5 separate regions of the Homo sapiens genome follow, and all the other regions are linked to region 2. Evidence: promoter capture Hi-C in human tissues and cell types (Jung and others, 2019). All regions are on one chromosome and are shown on one strand. The core of a region is centred on a gene start or on the middle of the fragment in contact, and the rest is flanking DNA. Distances in the headings are between cores, read along the strand shown. Region 1 has its middle 77 kb from the start of C10orf126. Region 2 holds the start of LYZL1 (lysozyme like 1). Region 3 has its middle 100 kb from the start of C10orf126. Region 4 has its middle 170 kb from the start of C10orf126. Region 5 has its middle 120 kb from the start of C10orf126.

Region 1 (3,059 bases), core at 274-2,773, 370 kb after region 2:
TCCCACCTCCCCTGCACGTGCTTCTGCTTTGATTCAGAACACCAGAACAAAATCAGATCCACCCCAAAAGAACACATGCCTTAAAAGCAGAGGAGAAAAAGGTTGTGGAGCCACAGTTGCTTCTGCTTCCCGACTCATCAAATTCTACAGCGCCTTTCAAATTACATAGAAAATAGGGCCGGGCGCAGTGGCTTAAGCCAAAAATCTCAGCACTTTGGGAGGCCGAGGCAAGCGGATCACTTGAGGTCAAGAGTTCGAGATCAGCCTGGGCAACATGATGAAACCCCGTCTCTACTGAAAATACAAAAATTAGCCGGGCGTGATGGCGCCCGCCTGTAATCCCAGCTACTCAAGAAGCTGCAGCACGAGAATTGCTTGAACCCAGAAGGCGGAGGTTGCAGTAAGCCGAGATCTACCCATCACCCCCGACTCAAAAAAAAAAAAAAAAAAAAGAAAAAGAAAAAAGAAAGAAAAGAGGGTGGCTCATGGCAAACACGTTAAGTAAGTTTCATCTCGTGTGCCAGCTCCATTTAATTGGTAGTGGTGTTCTAGAGCACTGTGCTAAGAAACCTTCTGAGGCAGAATTCAACCAGCAGGAAGGAATGCTAGTATCCTTTACTAATTTCCTTTTTTTTCCCTTTTTTCTTTTTTTTTTTTTTTTTTTTTTGGTAGAGGTGGAGTCTTTCTATGTTGCCCAGGCTGGTCTCAAACTTCTGACTTCAAGTGATCCTCCTGCGTTGGCCTCCCGAAGTGCTGGGATTACAGTCGTAAACCACCACTCCTGGATTATCCTTTACTAATTTCATTCATAGATGAGAGATTGGGAGAAGAAAGAGGAAACTGCCACTTATTTTCCACATAAGTGTCATCTTCAAGGTAGGAGACAGGGCCAAACCATCAAGTATTGAAACCCAGGCTTTACCACTTTCTAGCTGTATGATTTGGGGCAAGCTACTTAACCTCTCTGAATCTCACAAAGCCTTATCATTATATGGAAATCATATTTAAAATTATTGGGAAGGAGACAAGATTTGACATTTTAAAAGCATCACTTCCCCCTGTCCTGAGAGGTAAAGGTTGTGTCCATAGGCCTGGAATCAGATGGGCATGGGCCTGAGCCTTGGCTGTGACTGCAATGCGGGGTGAATGGAGGAGATCTAGCAGAGTAATGCCTTTATAGAGGGAAGATTTACAGAGGATAAGCCATCTAAATAGAGCTGGATACAGAGAGGAAATCATAGAAGAGTCAGGGACAAGGACAACCAATCCAGTTCCAAGTGGATGGTGCAGGAGCTAAGCCTCAAGTGCTTCCCAGACAGGTTGGAAACTGCTGTGGCAAATTTTTTCCTAAGGTCCCAGGAAGATGCCAATAGCACTTAGATGTGAGTTCCCAGACCTAAGGATCTGGCACTGGAGGGCAAAGGAGGCACATCTTAAATATTTGATCTCTCCTCTCCTTTTCCCACCTGCTAGTTCCTTCAGTCATGTGCCAGCCAGGTGTCCATGACAGAGAAAGGCCACTGAGATGAAAGGGCAACGCTGTTCAACTGGAAGCTCTTTGATTTTGCTAAACACGCTAGTGGCTTTGGGTGTGTACACCAGTTATGAAGCTATTGTCTGTCAGCTCCATGTCTTCCTTCTGTATTCTGCTCAGTGATGCTGATGTCAGACCTGCAAACCACACTTCTATATGGCCACCTGCTCTATTAGGTTCCACCAAGAAGGGATTCAAGAGGGAGACTGCAGGGCTGGAAGAGGAGAAGGGAACATATTTCTTCTTATCTGTTTCCTACTCTTTTGAGCATCATGGTAGCAATACTACTTCACTGCGCAGAGGCAGTTCCTTTCCACATCAGCCACAGAATCCAGGTGCCAGCTTTTCTAGCACTTGCACAGCCAGCTTCTTCACACCTCAGCCTTAGAAACACCAGCACCAGATAGACAATATTTCCTCTGTGGAAATCTGGGTCCCAGACCCTCACACTTCTTCTCCCAGCTCAGAGACACTAGCTCTGACTAAGAAGTACACTTTCATCCTAGGTGAGAATCCCATCTTCACAGGGCCCATCCTCAAGCATTTATGTTTTCATAGCTCCAAACTCTTCCCATAGTTCTTTCAGCCCTTGGGGTGGTAGCTGCCTTCTGCAATTGCTACCTCTGGGATACCTTACTATACATTCTGCCATTTCAGTTAACTGGTCAGTAACCTAATTCTAGTTAGCAATTCTGTATATTAAATTCTTTCTGTGAAAGTCACTGGTGTGGTTTCTGTTTCCTGCCTGGACCCTGGACTCTGAGTCAAACCTGAGAATTCTAGTAGAAGAGCATGGAATTGCTCTGCATCACAGAAGGAAAAGAATGTGAGCCTGCCAGAACAATCCAGGAGGGAGGGTGAGAGGCAGTCATGGAAGCAGCGAAGGGGGCACCCAGCAGACAGGCAGCCTAGAGAGGACACAGGGAGTGGGGAAAGGGGGGTCAAAGGGCTATAAGAGCATTTTAAGAACTGCTTGGCTGGGTGCAGTGGCTCACGCCTGTAATCCCAGCACTTTGGGAGGCCAAGGCAGGCGGATCACCTGAGGTCAGGAGTTCGAGACCAGCCTGACCAACACGAGAAACCTCGTCGCTACTAAAAATACAAAATTAGCCAGGCATGGTGGCAGGCTCCTGTAATCCCAGCTACTCAGGAGGCTGAGGCAGGAGAATCGCTTGAACCTGGGAGGCGGAGGTTGTGGTGAGCCAAGATCGCCCCATTGCACTCCAGCCTGGGCAACAAGAGCGAAACTCTGTCTCAAAACAAACAAACAAACAAAAAACCGCCCTGCCTGCTAGTCCCTCCTCTCCCTTTTTTTCCAAACCTTCAATGAAGTCTACTCCATCCATAGGTAGTGTGAAGAGAGTTAATCGTTTGTTTTAAAGACCTTTTAAGAAGCTTAGAGATGGACTTGATGCCAAGTATTATCTTGTTAACTTGTACACTTTTAAGAACTGATCATAATCCTTCTCATTACAACTGTTGAGAAAAAGCTAAGAGTCTTTGATGGGCAACATGAGTTTTTGGT
Region 2 (3,258 bases), core at 287-2,786:
GCCTCCCAAAGTGCTGGGATAACAGGTGTGAGCCACCATGCCCAGCCCAAAACATGAGTGTTTTATCTTAGATTGCAAATGCATTGCTTTGCTAAGCTTCACCACCAGTGCTCCGGGGGGCCTCCTAAAAGTCTGGCACCTGACTGGGGAGCAAGAGGGATGGAGGACAAAGCCTCATGAAAGGAGGAAAGCACCTGGGGGAGCAGAGGGGCAATAAAGAGACCCCTGCGGAATCATCTGAAATGGGAGTAGGATCAAGAGAGCTGTCTCCTGCTGCCTACTGATTTTCCACAATCTCTTCCCCTCTTGAAATAATGTCTTCCCCAAATACAACAGCCTTGCTGGGATGGGGTGAAGTGAAATTTCTGACAACTACTCGGGATCCTGAACTTGATGTTCTTACATATGTTCATCCCGTGTCATTTTCTGCACTTGCCTAGAAACTTCTCCAGTCATTAGTTTCTCTCCCTGGGGCTGGATTCCTGCATTGAAAGGCTAGGCCCAAAACAGGGATAAGTAGTCATCAGCAAGGCCACCGCACCAAGTAACAAGCAGGGCTTTAAGGTGACTAAGCAATAAGGTAAGGAACTGCATTGCATGAGGGGCATGTACATTACAAACGTGAATAGCAAGCGTGGGCAAACCAGGCCCGCTTTTGTATGTAAAGTTTTATTGAAACATAGCTACACCCATTTGGTAATATATCATTGGTGGCTGATTTCCAACTACAGTGGCAGAGTTCAGTAATTGTGTTTGAGGCCGTATAGACCACAAAGCCTAACATATTATTATCTGGCCCTTTTCAGAGAGAGCATGCCAGTCCGCTGTGTACAGCACTGTGTTAAGCTGTGAGGGACAGACAAACGAGGTTTAAGATGCAGAGCTAAGGCCAGGCATGGTGGGTGATACCTGTAATCCAAGCACTTTGGGAGGCTGAGGTGAGCAGATTGCTTGAAGCCAGGAGTTTGAGACTAGCCTGGGCAGCAAAGGTAGACCCTGCCTCTACAAAATATACAAAAATTAGCCAGGCATGGTGGTGTGTGCCTGTGGTCCCAGCTACTGGGGAGGCTGAGGTGGGAGGATCACTTGAGGCTGGGAGTTTGAGGCCATAGTGAGCCATGATTGTGACACTGCACTCCAGCCTGGGCAGCAGAGTGAGAGACCCTGTCTAAAAAAAAAAAAAAAAAAGAAAAGAAAAAAGAAAAAAAGATACAGAGCTTACAAATAGAGTTGGTTTCCATCCCCTGCCTTAGAATTTTACTGATCTCAAACAAGTCCAAAGAAAACCCGCAGCAATGATAACCCCAAGCATCATGTTCTACATCCTTCAAGAACCTGCCATTGCTGGTTCTCATAAGAGTAATTTAGGTCTTACTGAAAAGGCAGATTCCTGGTGCCTGCCCCAGAGGCTGACTTCTCAGTTGAGTCTGCGGAAGAAACACTGCTCCACTTAGTCGGTGACAGGCAGCTCAGGGGAGCGTCCTGCATCCCCTGAAGCCATGTCTGATTCTAACGAGGCGCGAGTAATCCTTTCCTAGCTCAAGAACATTTCTTTAGAGTGTTAGAGAAAGAAAAATTCTTAATCCTTTGTTTCTCACCACCTAGAGATGCTAGAATTCTACTTCTTGGCACTAAAAGCTGTATCATCCTGCATGCTTGTGTTCTGAGGCAGGTGATAACTGTCTTCTGGGGCTTAATACCTCTTGTTTTTTGTCTTTTCCCCTCAACAACCCTCCTCATTACACAACTTGGCCAGGGCCTCCTGTCCAAGTGAGAGCTCTTCTCTGAGGCGTCTGCAAACTTTATCACAAATTCCATTAATAAAGAAAGTTAAGCATGTATCCTCTTTAGATGTACATTGAGTTATAAATCATACTTCTGTACCTCAGTACTAATATGCTACATAAATTATCAACATACATAAAACTAAAATTTGAAAATTAATGACATAGAGGTGAAATTAACATTAAAAATTTATTAACAGCACATTTGCTATAGTCAAATTATTATTAATAAAATATTTTTGTAATAACATGATTTTATTATTTTTGAAAAATTTGGCTTAACACTTTGTGAATCAATAACTAAAGGGCTGTTTTCAAGGTCTATTTATTTCAATGTTCAGATTTAGTGACACATTTGAAATGAATTCTCATTAGAATATGTAGATCTAAGTAGAAGTTTATTGTTGGCTGCACCTAACTAATCGTTATATTTTCTTAAATTCCATCTGCCAATAATGCAAAGGTTTTGTTGAAATCTATTTTGAAGTTCATATAGTATTGCATTATACAGATACAACATAGCATACTTAGCCAATTTCATATTGATGCACACTTATTTTATTCTTCTATTGTAAACATATTACAACCAGTAATTTTGTACATATGTCATTTGTAACTTTACAAGAATATCTTGCTGGATCAAAGGGTATAATTTTGTAATTTTGCTAGATATTTGCCAAATTGCCTTTCACATGGGCTTGTATCAGGAAGATAGCACACTGTGTTATCAAATGTTTCAATATTTCTCAATATTAGAGATGAAACATAATTTTTCAGCAGAGTTTCAATTTCAACTTTCGTTATTTCAAGCTGCTTGAGGGTCTTTTTTATCTTTAGAAGCCATTAGTGGACTTCTTGTGAACAGTCTATAATATGAGAAAATGTATAGGTTTTTCCCTCAAACATCTTTTTCAAAATGCTTTGAAATAGGGATCTTACCAGTGAGAAAATAGAGACGGATTGTCTTTTTCTTTTTCAAAAATGCTTGCTTAGCAAGTTTTCAGATATGACGTAAATATACAAAAGCCATTTACAATCTTATATACTAGGAATAGAAAATAAGAGTTTGAAATAAAAAAAAATCCATTTACAATAGTACACAAATGCAAATGAAGTACTTAAATTTAAACCTAACAAAATATGTGCAGGATATATATACTGACAACTATAAGACAGACGGAAAATTAAAGAAGACCTGAGTAAATGAAAAAGACACACCATATTCATGAATTTGAAGAGTCAATATTATTAAGATTTAATACATAGATTTAGTGGAATCCCATTTAAACTCCCAGAAAAATTGTTTAGAAAATATCAATAAGAGGGTCCTAAAACTTATATGAAAAGGCAAAGGGACTAGAGTAGGCAAAACTATTCAGAAGAATAATAAAATTGAAGGACTCATATTGCTTGATTTTAGAACTTAATATAAAGCTGTAGTAATCAAGACAGGATGATATTTGTGGAAACAGAC
Region 3 (3,451 bases), core at 50-2,549, 340 kb after region 2:
TGAGAAGAGAAAGGCAGCACAGCATAGTAGCAAGACACCTAGACTAGATGTTGCCAGGCCTGAAGTTTACCCTTAGAATTTTCCACAATTGAGTCACATGCCTTTGGGTGTATCACTTGGCTCTATGAACCTCGGTTGCCTCTGAGATATATTCAGTTATTTGTTATATGATATTCAGGCATAAGAATTCTGCAAAAGTATAGCAAAATGAATGCATTTTCTCAACTGACAGCTGTTGAGGTTCTATATGTCCTATGAGCAATTGTGATTTGTATTGTCATTATTATTACCTGTGAAAGTCACTCATGTCCATGTGGATGTGAAAGACTAGTGCAAAGATGAGCCACAGGGCTGTTTTTCACATTAGTAAAAACTTGAAATCAACCCAAATGTTCTGCTTTTTGTTTGTTTGTTTTGAGAAAAAAAAGGGGCTAAAGCGTAGTAGTGCAATCATGGCTCACTGCAGCCTCAAACTCCCAGCCTCAAGCAGTCCTCCCATCTCAGCCTCCCAATTACCTGGGACTGTAGACACACGCCACAACATCCAGCTATTTTTTTTTATTTTTAGTAGAGACAGGGTCTTGCTATGTTGCCCAGGCTGATTTTGAACTCTTAGGCTCAAGTAATCCTCCCACCTCAACCTCCCAAAGTGCTGGGATTACAGGCATGGGCCACTGCACCTGGCACCAAATGTTCTAAATATTTGAAATATACAGGCCTGGGTTTCCCAGTGTATCTCCCCTCCCACAACTCTTTCATGAGACATTGACCACAGGTAGTTTTTTTCCATGTAAAATGTAGTATATAGTGTTATATGAACGTTGCTACTGTGTTCACAATGTGTGAGACTTGGGCCTGAGCCATAAGAGACCAGCGTGAACTTGTGTAACGTGGTCATACGGGAAACTAGCTTCCTATCATGTGGCTTGGCTCAAGACTCTGCCCAGTACACATGCTCCGTATTAAGTGATGTGAAAACTGATCCAAACAAAGTCTCTCTGTTAGGAACAGTAAGAGAGTAGCAGGGACCAATGGATCTCTGTGTCAAGGGGATGAAATGGCCCAATCACTAGTGGTGGAGGTCCCCTGAGCTTGCCTTGCCTCTTGAAAATGAGACATTCTTCCAGTCTTTCTTAAAGTCTGGTACCTGGAATGTCTGAACAACGATAAAGACAGCTTTCTTGATTTCTTCATATTCTAATCTTAGCTTTCCTCACTTAAGTAACTTAGCAATGTGTCTTCTTTGCAAACTAAAAATGTCTACGTTTAAGATACATTAGCGTATACGTATACAAAACTTGATAACTTTTTCCAAAACTACACATACAGAGGAGATCAGAAAGGAAATCCATCAATGTGTTAACAATCTGAGAATACTGGTATCTACTTTTACTTTCTCCATGTTGCTTATCTTTATTTTCTGATTTTTTTAAACACACAAGATTGTTCTTATTGGAGGGAATGAATTTTTTGTTGTAAAAATAATAAGTTCTATCCAGCTCAGGGACAAGATGACACAGAGTTACTTCTCTCTGCTCTTCCTCTCTAAAAATAGCTAAATATCCTGGAACTAATTCAGCAGACAATCATAAAAGAATTTGAAAAAGTGAGAAGAAGGCTAGAAATGTCAAGCCTTAAGGGATGATGTCAGAGTGAGTTCCTTGCGTTTTTTTGCTATGGTTCATATATCACAGACTGGACATCAAAAAGGCAGCCTTTTGGCAGCCTTGAACCACCTACAGGAATAGACAAATAAAAATACTTGCTCCTCTGCTGAAGAACTGAGAAAGGGGTGGTCCAGCGGAGACCTAATGAAGTGATCTACCCCAAACCCAAGGCAGTGGCAGGCCAATCAGCTGCAGCAGCAACTAAAACCCAGTGCTTCCAAAACTACCCCTCCATTCACACTGAAAGCTCTTCAGGGATTGATTGAGTGAGAGCCCAGCAGAAGCAGAAGAACAAAGTCAGCTAGAACAATATGCAAGGGCTCTGAAATTAAATGGTCATTGAACCAATAGCTCACAAAAATAGGCAAGACCTAAACTTAAACAGAAGTTGAAATAGAATCAAAAGCTGCCAAGCATAATATTCAAAATATCCAAGACACAACAGAAAGCCATTAATGATAGGAAGAACCATAAAAAACACAAAAGTGAGAAAAGACCATCAGCTGACAGCAGCACTGAGATGAATCATGACTTGGGATTATCAGATAAAGAACATTAAGTAGCCATCATTAAAATGCTTCTACACTTACATATTTTCTAGGAAGAAATAAAATAGAAAATCTTGGCAAAGAAACAGAAACGTTTTTTTAAAAAAAACTATAATTTATAGTGAAATTATAGAAATGAATAATACAAGTGAAAATTATAGAACTGAAAAATACAATTACTAAAACTAAAAAAACCCCACTGTATGAATTCAGTGGTAAAGTGGAGACAACAAAGAATAGAATTGGTGAACTTTAGTTTATTCAAAAAGAAAATAAACTAAAAAAAAATTTAATGAATGAATTCTTAGCATTTATGGAACAAAAATGTAAGTTTAAAAAAATTATATTATTGAACTGCCAGAATGAGAGGGAAAAGAATGTGAAGCTGAAAAGGGAGTCAAATAAATAATGGCTGAAAATGTCTCCAGTTAGCAAAAGACTTAATCCAACAAATCCAAGAGGTTGGGCAAACCCAAACAGCATAAACTAAAAGAAATTCCCACCAAAACACATCATAATGAAACTTCTGAAAACGAAAGACAAAGAAAAATGTCTTAATAATAGCAAGAGAGAAATAACATATTACCTGTAGCGGAACACCAATTTAAATGAAAGCAGATTTCTCTTTGAAACCTAGGAGGCCAGAAGGAAGTGACACAACACTTACAAGTGCTAAAAGAAAAGAAAAAAAAATTTAAAACACATAAAACTGAATGAAAATAAAAATACAATGCATCAAAATTTTGGAGAGACATCTAAAGTAGGGCAGAGAGGCAAATTTATAGCACTAAATGCTTACATTAGAGAAGAAGAAAGGTCTCAAGTCAAAGATAATAGCTTCTACCTCAATAAACCAGAAAGAGAAGAGCAAAATAAGCCCAAATCAAGCAGAAAGAAGGAAATAATAAAGAGAAGAGCAGAAAGAAATGAAATTAAAAACAAGAAAACAATATAAAAAGTTAATGCAACAAAAATCTGGTCCTATGAGGAAAACCCAATCTCTAGCAAGACTGAGAAAGATAAAAAAAGAGAAGATACAAACCACCAGTATCAGATAAAATGGGGAACCACAACAGATCCTGCAACCATTAAAAAGATAATAAAGAAATACTATGAACAATGTTATGCTCATAAATTCAACAACAGAAAAGAAATGAACCAATTCCTCAAAACCACAAACTAACAAAACTCAGCCCAGATGAAGTAGATAACTTGAATAGTCCTATAACAATGAAA
Region 4 (2,992 bases), core at 471-2,970, 270 kb after region 2:
CTATACGGAAGCTCTTTGGTTTGACATAATCCCATTTGTCTATTTTTGGTTTTGTGGCCTGTGCTTTTGAGGTCTTACCCAAAAAATTCTTGACCAGATCAATGTCATAAAGTATTCCCCTGATGTTTTACTCTACAGTAGTAGTTTTATCATTTCAGCTTTTCCATTTAAGTCCTTCGTTCATTTTGAGTTGATTTTTGTATATGGGCTCTAGCTTCATTCTTCTGCATGTGGATATCATCTTCCCAGCAACATTTGTTGAAAAGACTATCCTTTCCCCAATGTGTGTTTGTGGCATTTTTGTCAGAAAACAGTTGGCTACAAATGTGTGAATTTATTTCTGGGCCCTCTTTTCTGTTCCATTGGTCTATGTGTCTGTTTCTATGCCAATACCATGCTATTTTGATGACTATAGCTCTGTAGTATATTTTGAAGTTCAGTGGTGTAATGCCTCCAGCTTTGTTCTTTTTGCTCAAAATTGCTTTGGCTATTCAGGGTCTTGTGTAGTTCCATATAAATTTTAGGATTTTTTTTTCTATTTCTGTGAAGAATGTCATTGGTATTTTGATAGGGTTGGGTTGATTCTGTAGATTCTTTGGGTAGTATGGACATTTTAATAATGTTAATTTTTACAATCTGTGAACACGGATATTTTTCTATTTGTGTCTTCTTTCATTTCTCTCATCAGCATTTTATAGTTTTCATTGTAGAGATCTTTCACTTTCTTGGTTAAACTTATTCCTAGGTATCTTTTTTGTAGCTGTTGTAAATGTATTTTTAATCTTAACCCCCCTCTAAGGAAGCAATTTATAATTGAAGACAATTCAGAGGTATTTTCCTTCTAGTCCTGCAAAACTCAATCTTAGGTTCTGTAAGCCTCTTGTAGGATACAGTCCACACCAAATAATATCTGAAGTTATCCATCTTAGTAGAGATATCACTTTGCTGAACCTCAAGACACAGATGTACTAAGGCTTAGCCACAGTGAACAGTTGCCCAGATCTTTCATCTAACTCCAAGGAGATTTTTATCCATCTCCTTTTGGCTGAGGAGGACTAACAACTCCCTTTACATTTCTAATCAGTTCCAGAGACATGGGGTCTTTGTTAGTGTTTTTTAAAAATATCGATCACTTTGAGCAATTGAGGAAATATTCATTACCAAGGCAACAAATATAAGTGCTCCTCTCGAAGCCAAAAATATTCCAAAGGTCTGTAGGCTGAAGTACATAAGGCTGTAGGTCTGCAGGCTGTTTTCATATATCAAATATACCAAAGGTCTGTAGGCTGTTTTCATTCAAAATTATGTAAAGCATCCTATCAATAAAATGCAGAACTGCACATGGGAATGACTGTCAATCCTGGTACATGTCGCACGTTATGAAATCTGCCAGTGGCCAAATAAAGACTGTGAAATGCTTTGAGCTTCTCAGAAGAAAGCCACTAAAATTACCAGGAGTAAATCGGGGACATTATGCAGTTAAAGGGGACTTTTTGTTTCCATAATGCTTTGCAGCTATGAACTGTTCTTCTCATATTGTGATCCTGGGTAGTAGCTCCACTTGGAGTTTCACTGCTTAAACAGAAGATAATAAAATTGGAGAACAAAATGACACCCCAAGGACATACATATGGTGAGTTCTATGTTAACACAAACCAGAGCTAAAAAAGGGGTCTGGGACTGGGAGGTACCAAAGAAGTTTGATTAATGTAGAAAGCCCACCTGCATAATTAAAGCAAACAAACTGAAGAAGCAAACAAACCCCCCACCACTTCACATCTATAGGATTGAACTTTGCCAGATTTTCATTTCACTTTGTGGTTGGTAGGAACTCAGATGGAGGCTCATCTTTTTAAAGCAAAAATCAAACACCCAGGAGAGTTATGTGACGTGCGAGGCTTAGCAGACAAGCAGTAGAGGTATACTTAAACACTTGCAGGCCTGGAAAGTCTAAGATGGAAAAAAAGGAAAGCAACACTGCGGGGCTTCTTGTCCTGCAGCTCTCATTGAACAGGCTGAGCAAAAACAAAACAAAACAAACAAAACAAAACAAAATCCCTGACCTGGAGGAAAAAGACTTTGGAGTGTTCAGGCAGGAGTCAGAGATGAACACGCACTTTGCTTGAGCTCTGCAGTGCCAAGTGGCCCCAAGGAAATTAGGGTCAGGAGGAAAGATATCTCTGACTCTGGAGTTTAGACTGTAATGCCAGCTCTCTGTAGGCCTGGGAGGCAGGGGGCTGAGCAGAGACAGAAGAATGGTCACTGAACCCACAATCCCTTTCCCTTTATTTCCCAACATCTTTTCTGTGTTATACCCAAAGCCATAAAGAAATGGGTCCTTCACTAGCCAAACTATGACCTGAGACTTATTTTCATTCTTAGTGAGTTAGCTTAAGATTGATAGCCAACATTTCCTCTGTGTAAGCAGCACATTCCATAACAAATCCAAGAATAGCAAAACAACAATACAACATCCTTTGGGTGGGAATAGATGACAAAAGTACTTTTGTAAACTTGAGAAAAAAACTTGAAAAACATGATTGTCATCATATTAAAAAGAAAAAGAAAGAGAAAAAAACTCCTGTAATGTTCATATAATCTAAATTTCTAAATTTTAAAATATAAACAAATACATTAGAGGGGAAGTTCCTCAAATTGATAAAAAACATCTACAAACATCTATATCTAATATACTTACTTGTGAAAAACTGAATGCTTCCCCCTGAGACCAGGAGAAGGCAAGGATATCCACTCTCATCACTTCTTCTCAACATAGTGCTGGAAGTTCTAGTCATACAACAAGGCAAGAAAAAGAAGTGAAAGGGATACAGATTAGAAAGAAAAAAAAACTACCTCTATTTTCGGAGGAAATGATTACATAAAAATCCCAAAGAATCTACTACCAAAAAAACTCCTAGAACTAATAAATGAGATCAGCAAGCTTACAAGATACAAGATAAACATACAAAATGTAATTGCTATCAATGAATGC
Region 5 (3,422 bases), core at 713-3,212, 320 kb after region 2:
AAAGGGCCAGGGTTACAGGTGTGAGCCACCACACCTGGCCAATTTTTTTAAATGTTTTTGTAGAGATGGGATCTTGCCCTGTTGCCCAGGCTAGTCTGAAACTCCTGGGCTCAAGACAGCCTTCCACCTTGGCCTTCCAAAGTGCTGGGATTAGAGGTGTGAGCCACCATGCCCAGCTGAGATTGTAGATTTCTTTTGAATGGAGAACATGTCTTATTTATCAATCCCACCTTTTATGCCAGAATACTACATAGCATAGAAATCAACCAATTGCATGTGTGGATAGGTCATAAGTGGATGAGATATTCCTTTGCACGATTTTCCTTGACAGGTAAGCTGTCATCTTCCTCATAGAGGTATTCAGACTGAGTTTTCTCAATTTATCTTCATCAGTCCCTGCTGAGTCAATCTTATTGAGCATCTCTTTAACTTGTCAATTCTGATCTAAGCCAGGGAATTCTGCTATGTGTGCAGCTACAGCCAGACTTCAGACATCTGAATGGCCTTGGTCTTTTTATAGTTTTTCGCATGGCAAATAGACTCAGGCTTCCGCAGACTTGCTGATACGGAGCGAGGTAAATCAATTTCCACCATGCCAGGTACTGAGGCTGAGGCTTCAGGACCACACTGCTGGACACAGAAACTTCCTCATCTTTTCTCTCATTCCAAACTTAGAATAACACTGGCTGTCTTACAGGACACCAGGAAGACTGCAAAGATCTTAACCCTGGTCTCAGGACAGACTATAGAATAAGCATCTGAGAGAAGAAATGGAGAGAGTGGGATTATTTTCCCTCTAAGAAAAGAAAGGATGATGTAGAAAGCAGGTAGTATAGGAAGAAGCAATCTCAGATAACAGAAATACAGTCACGTTTGTGTTGAAATAACTTTTCTAAGCTTATTGGGATCCTCTAGAATAATGAACTTTTTGTGACCTCCCCATCTATCATGTAGGTGGTGATTATACCACATCCCCTAACAGGAAGATGTTGACTCTGCTTCCAAGGCAAACCAGTTATGAAATACCGCCATAGCCACATTCTTGGTCCATTCTACAGTGCAATTCAACAACTGGGTTCAAACCCTTGGTGTGACAAAAAAAAAAAAAAAAAAAAAATAAAGATAAGTGGAAAAGAAAGATCGTTGATTTTTTAGACCAAAAGGAAACTAAGTTAGCTATTTCTAATTTCTCTGTGAAACACTGGTTTCCTCTTACTCCCTCAAAAACAATTGGTGTTTCTCTAGATAATGCAATTATTTATAGGCTTCTACTGAATCTTTTATATTATCCTTTTCTTAGACTTCCAGGGCAGGCACAACTGGGCAAATAGTAAAAAAGTTTATTTTATTTTTTTTTTACCTTGATTAAGTAGATTGTATGCATACATGTATTTAAAACAAAAATAAGTAAGAGAATGATAAAATGCATGACTTGAATCCTGGCTACTCTTGATGGGGGAGGCAAGAGGAGGGGAGAGAGGAGGGGCATACAGGCAAACAAAAGTTACAGATATTACTCCGGGCTTGAGTATGAGCAGGCAGTTCACGGGGCTTCACCATATTACTATAAATAAATAACCTGTAATCCCAACACTGTGGGAGGCTAAGGCAGGAGGATCTCTTGAGCCCAGGAGTTCCAGATCAGCCTGGGCAACATGGCAAAACCCCATCTCTACTAAAAATACAAACAAAGAAAAAACTTAGCCTGGTGTGGTGGTGCCCGCCTGTAGTCCAACTACTTGGGAGGCTGAGGAGGGAGAATCGCTTGAGCCCAGGAGGTTGAGGCTGCAGTGAGCTGTGATTGCACCACTGCACTTCAGCCTGGATGACAGAGCAAGACCCTGTCTCAAAAGTAAATAAATAAATAACAAAAACAAGTATTACAAAAACTATATTTCTCATTGTTCTACTTCTGCCTTGTAGGCAGTTGCATTGGTAAGTTTATTCTGTAAGCTATTTAACTTCTGACATTTTCCCCATTGATCTTCTTCCACAAGTCCAAGTGAGTAAATGGAGTCAAAGCCCACTTGGAGGCCCAGCAGCCCTCTGCTTTCTCACCCATGCCTGAATGTGTGATGACCCCTGAACTGGGCTCCTGTGCTATGAAGCTTGCCCGACAGTGGGAAAATCTCCAAGTGTGGTTCTTATGCCAGCTCTCCTTTACCAGTGAGCCAAGCTGCTAGGAGGAAGTTATGCTACTCTTTCTTATGTATATTGCACATCAGGCTCACTATGCGCTGGTTACTTGCCCAAGTCTGCTGAGACAGAACACTCACACACGCAAGTTACATGAAGTGAATTTATTACTTAGGCAGCAAGGGACAACAGAACCCTGGAATTCACGATGAGCCTGTGCCTCCCTAAGTCTCAGGAAAATTGCCCATGGCAGATGGAGTTTCATCTGTGTATGCCCCAATTGCATCGCAGCTGAGGGACCCGAAAAAGCATCCTGCCCTGAGTTTTATACCCTGTGGTTACAGGACTCATTAAGCTAAACCATTGAAGGGACATCCTTTTTCTAGGAGAGGCTGGAACAGAGCCCAGGCTGTTCCAGTCAGCTCCCCCTTATCTCAAGATATTGCATTCCCAGCACACTCATCAGTTATTATTGAGAACAAGTAAGAAATGGGAAGAAATGGGTTAGTCCAAGGCCCCCAGAGAACTGTCTTACATATATCTTTTTAAGAAATCTTTCACAAAGGAGTGGTTCTATAGGTGGATATGGGCATTCCTGGGGCTAGCTGTAATACCATGAAACACTGTAGAAGCCTTCTCAACCAACCTGTTTGATCAACTCCAGAAACATATCTGGTGCCCTGTAAGACAAACAGAACAATGGCCTGGGCTCCCAGAATGCTAAAGGTGATGCCTGGCCTCTTCTCCTGCTAACTGTTGACTTATTTGCTTACTCGGAGTTACTTAATACCTTGTGATAACAGTCATAGTCATATAATTATGAGATTTAATTTTGAGTTAAGTAAATTGATGAAAACAAATATCAGAAGAGGGTTGTTTCTATAAACCTAGGTTGAGTGTTTTGGAAAGCTAGATAAATGTGAGTTGCAAAAATGAATCAAATTAGGCAAGGGTTAGACAACTAAAAATTACTGGGTAGGAAATTCTTCAAATCTATGAGGAGTCTGCACTCTAGTTTCTTTGTGCTTGTCCTCAGTTTTATTCTAGTTTAAAGAGAGCAAAACTAGAGATAAAGCATGCTGCTTTACAGGAATGGGTTTTGTGAGGAAGAGAAAAAGGAACCCTAAGTAGAGGCCCTATAATTGGAGTAAAAGCCCTCAATCTGGCATCAAAAGCTTGGCAAATGAATATATATTTATACATGTCAAGTTCAAATTGTCTTAAAATATATATATGTGTTCATCCATTTTCATGCTGCTGATAAAGACATACCCAAGACTGGGAAA

Evidence for each region. The method cuts DNA at HindIII sites, captures the fragments that hold promoters and counts their contacts. A contact is called where the count stands out against the background at its distance.
Region 1: a fragment that was not itself captured here is called in contact with the fragment with the promoter of LYZL1 in region 2 in 4 of the 25 tissues and cell types used here (H1 embryonic stem cells, heart right ventricle, small bowel and 1 more).
Region 3: a fragment that was not itself captured here is called in contact with the fragment with the promoter of LYZL1 in region 2 in 3 of the 25 tissues and cell types used here (heart right ventricle, mesenchymal stem cells and mesendoderm cells).
Region 4: a contact is called between a fragment that was not itself captured here and the fragment with the promoter of LYZL1 in region 2, in 2 of the 25 tissues and cell types used here (dorsolateral prefrontal cortex and mesendoderm cells).
Region 5: a fragment that was not itself captured here is called in contact with the fragment with the promoter of LYZL1 in region 2 in 4 of the 25 tissues and cell types used here (heart left ventricle, mesendoderm cells, ovary and 1 more).

Annotation. Positions count from the first base shown.
Region 1 is chr10:28,921,606-28,924,664 of GRCh38, reverse strand. No RefSeq gene overlaps it. Among named protein-coding and RNA genes, the nearest start is that of C10orf126, 77 kb to the right of the region's middle. The HindIII fragment of the contact is 5,125 bases long and covers 1-3,059 here.
Region 2 is chr10:29,287,348-29,290,605 of GRCh38, reverse strand. It overlaps LYZL1 (lysozyme like 1), which reads right to left and starts at 1,536. Exons shown (of 5, transcript NM_032517.6): 1 at 1,376-1,536. The HindIII fragment of the contact is 13,518 bases long and covers 1-3,258 here.
Region 3 is chr10:28,944,890-28,948,340 of GRCh38, reverse strand. No RefSeq gene overlaps it. Among named protein-coding and RNA genes, the nearest start is that of C10orf126, 100 kb to the right of the region's middle. The HindIII fragment of the contact is 4,803 bases long and covers 1-3,451 here.
Region 4 is chr10:29,014,890-29,017,881 of GRCh38, reverse strand. No RefSeq gene overlaps it. Among named protein-coding and RNA genes, the nearest start is that of C10orf126, 170 kb to the right of the region's middle. The HindIII fragment of the contact is 4,878 bases long and covers 1-2,992 here.
Region 5 is chr10:28,963,076-28,966,497 of GRCh38, reverse strand. No RefSeq gene overlaps it. Among named protein-coding and RNA genes, the nearest start is that of C10orf126, 120 kb to the right of the region's middle. The HindIII fragment of the contact is 3,221 bases long and covers 352-3,422 here.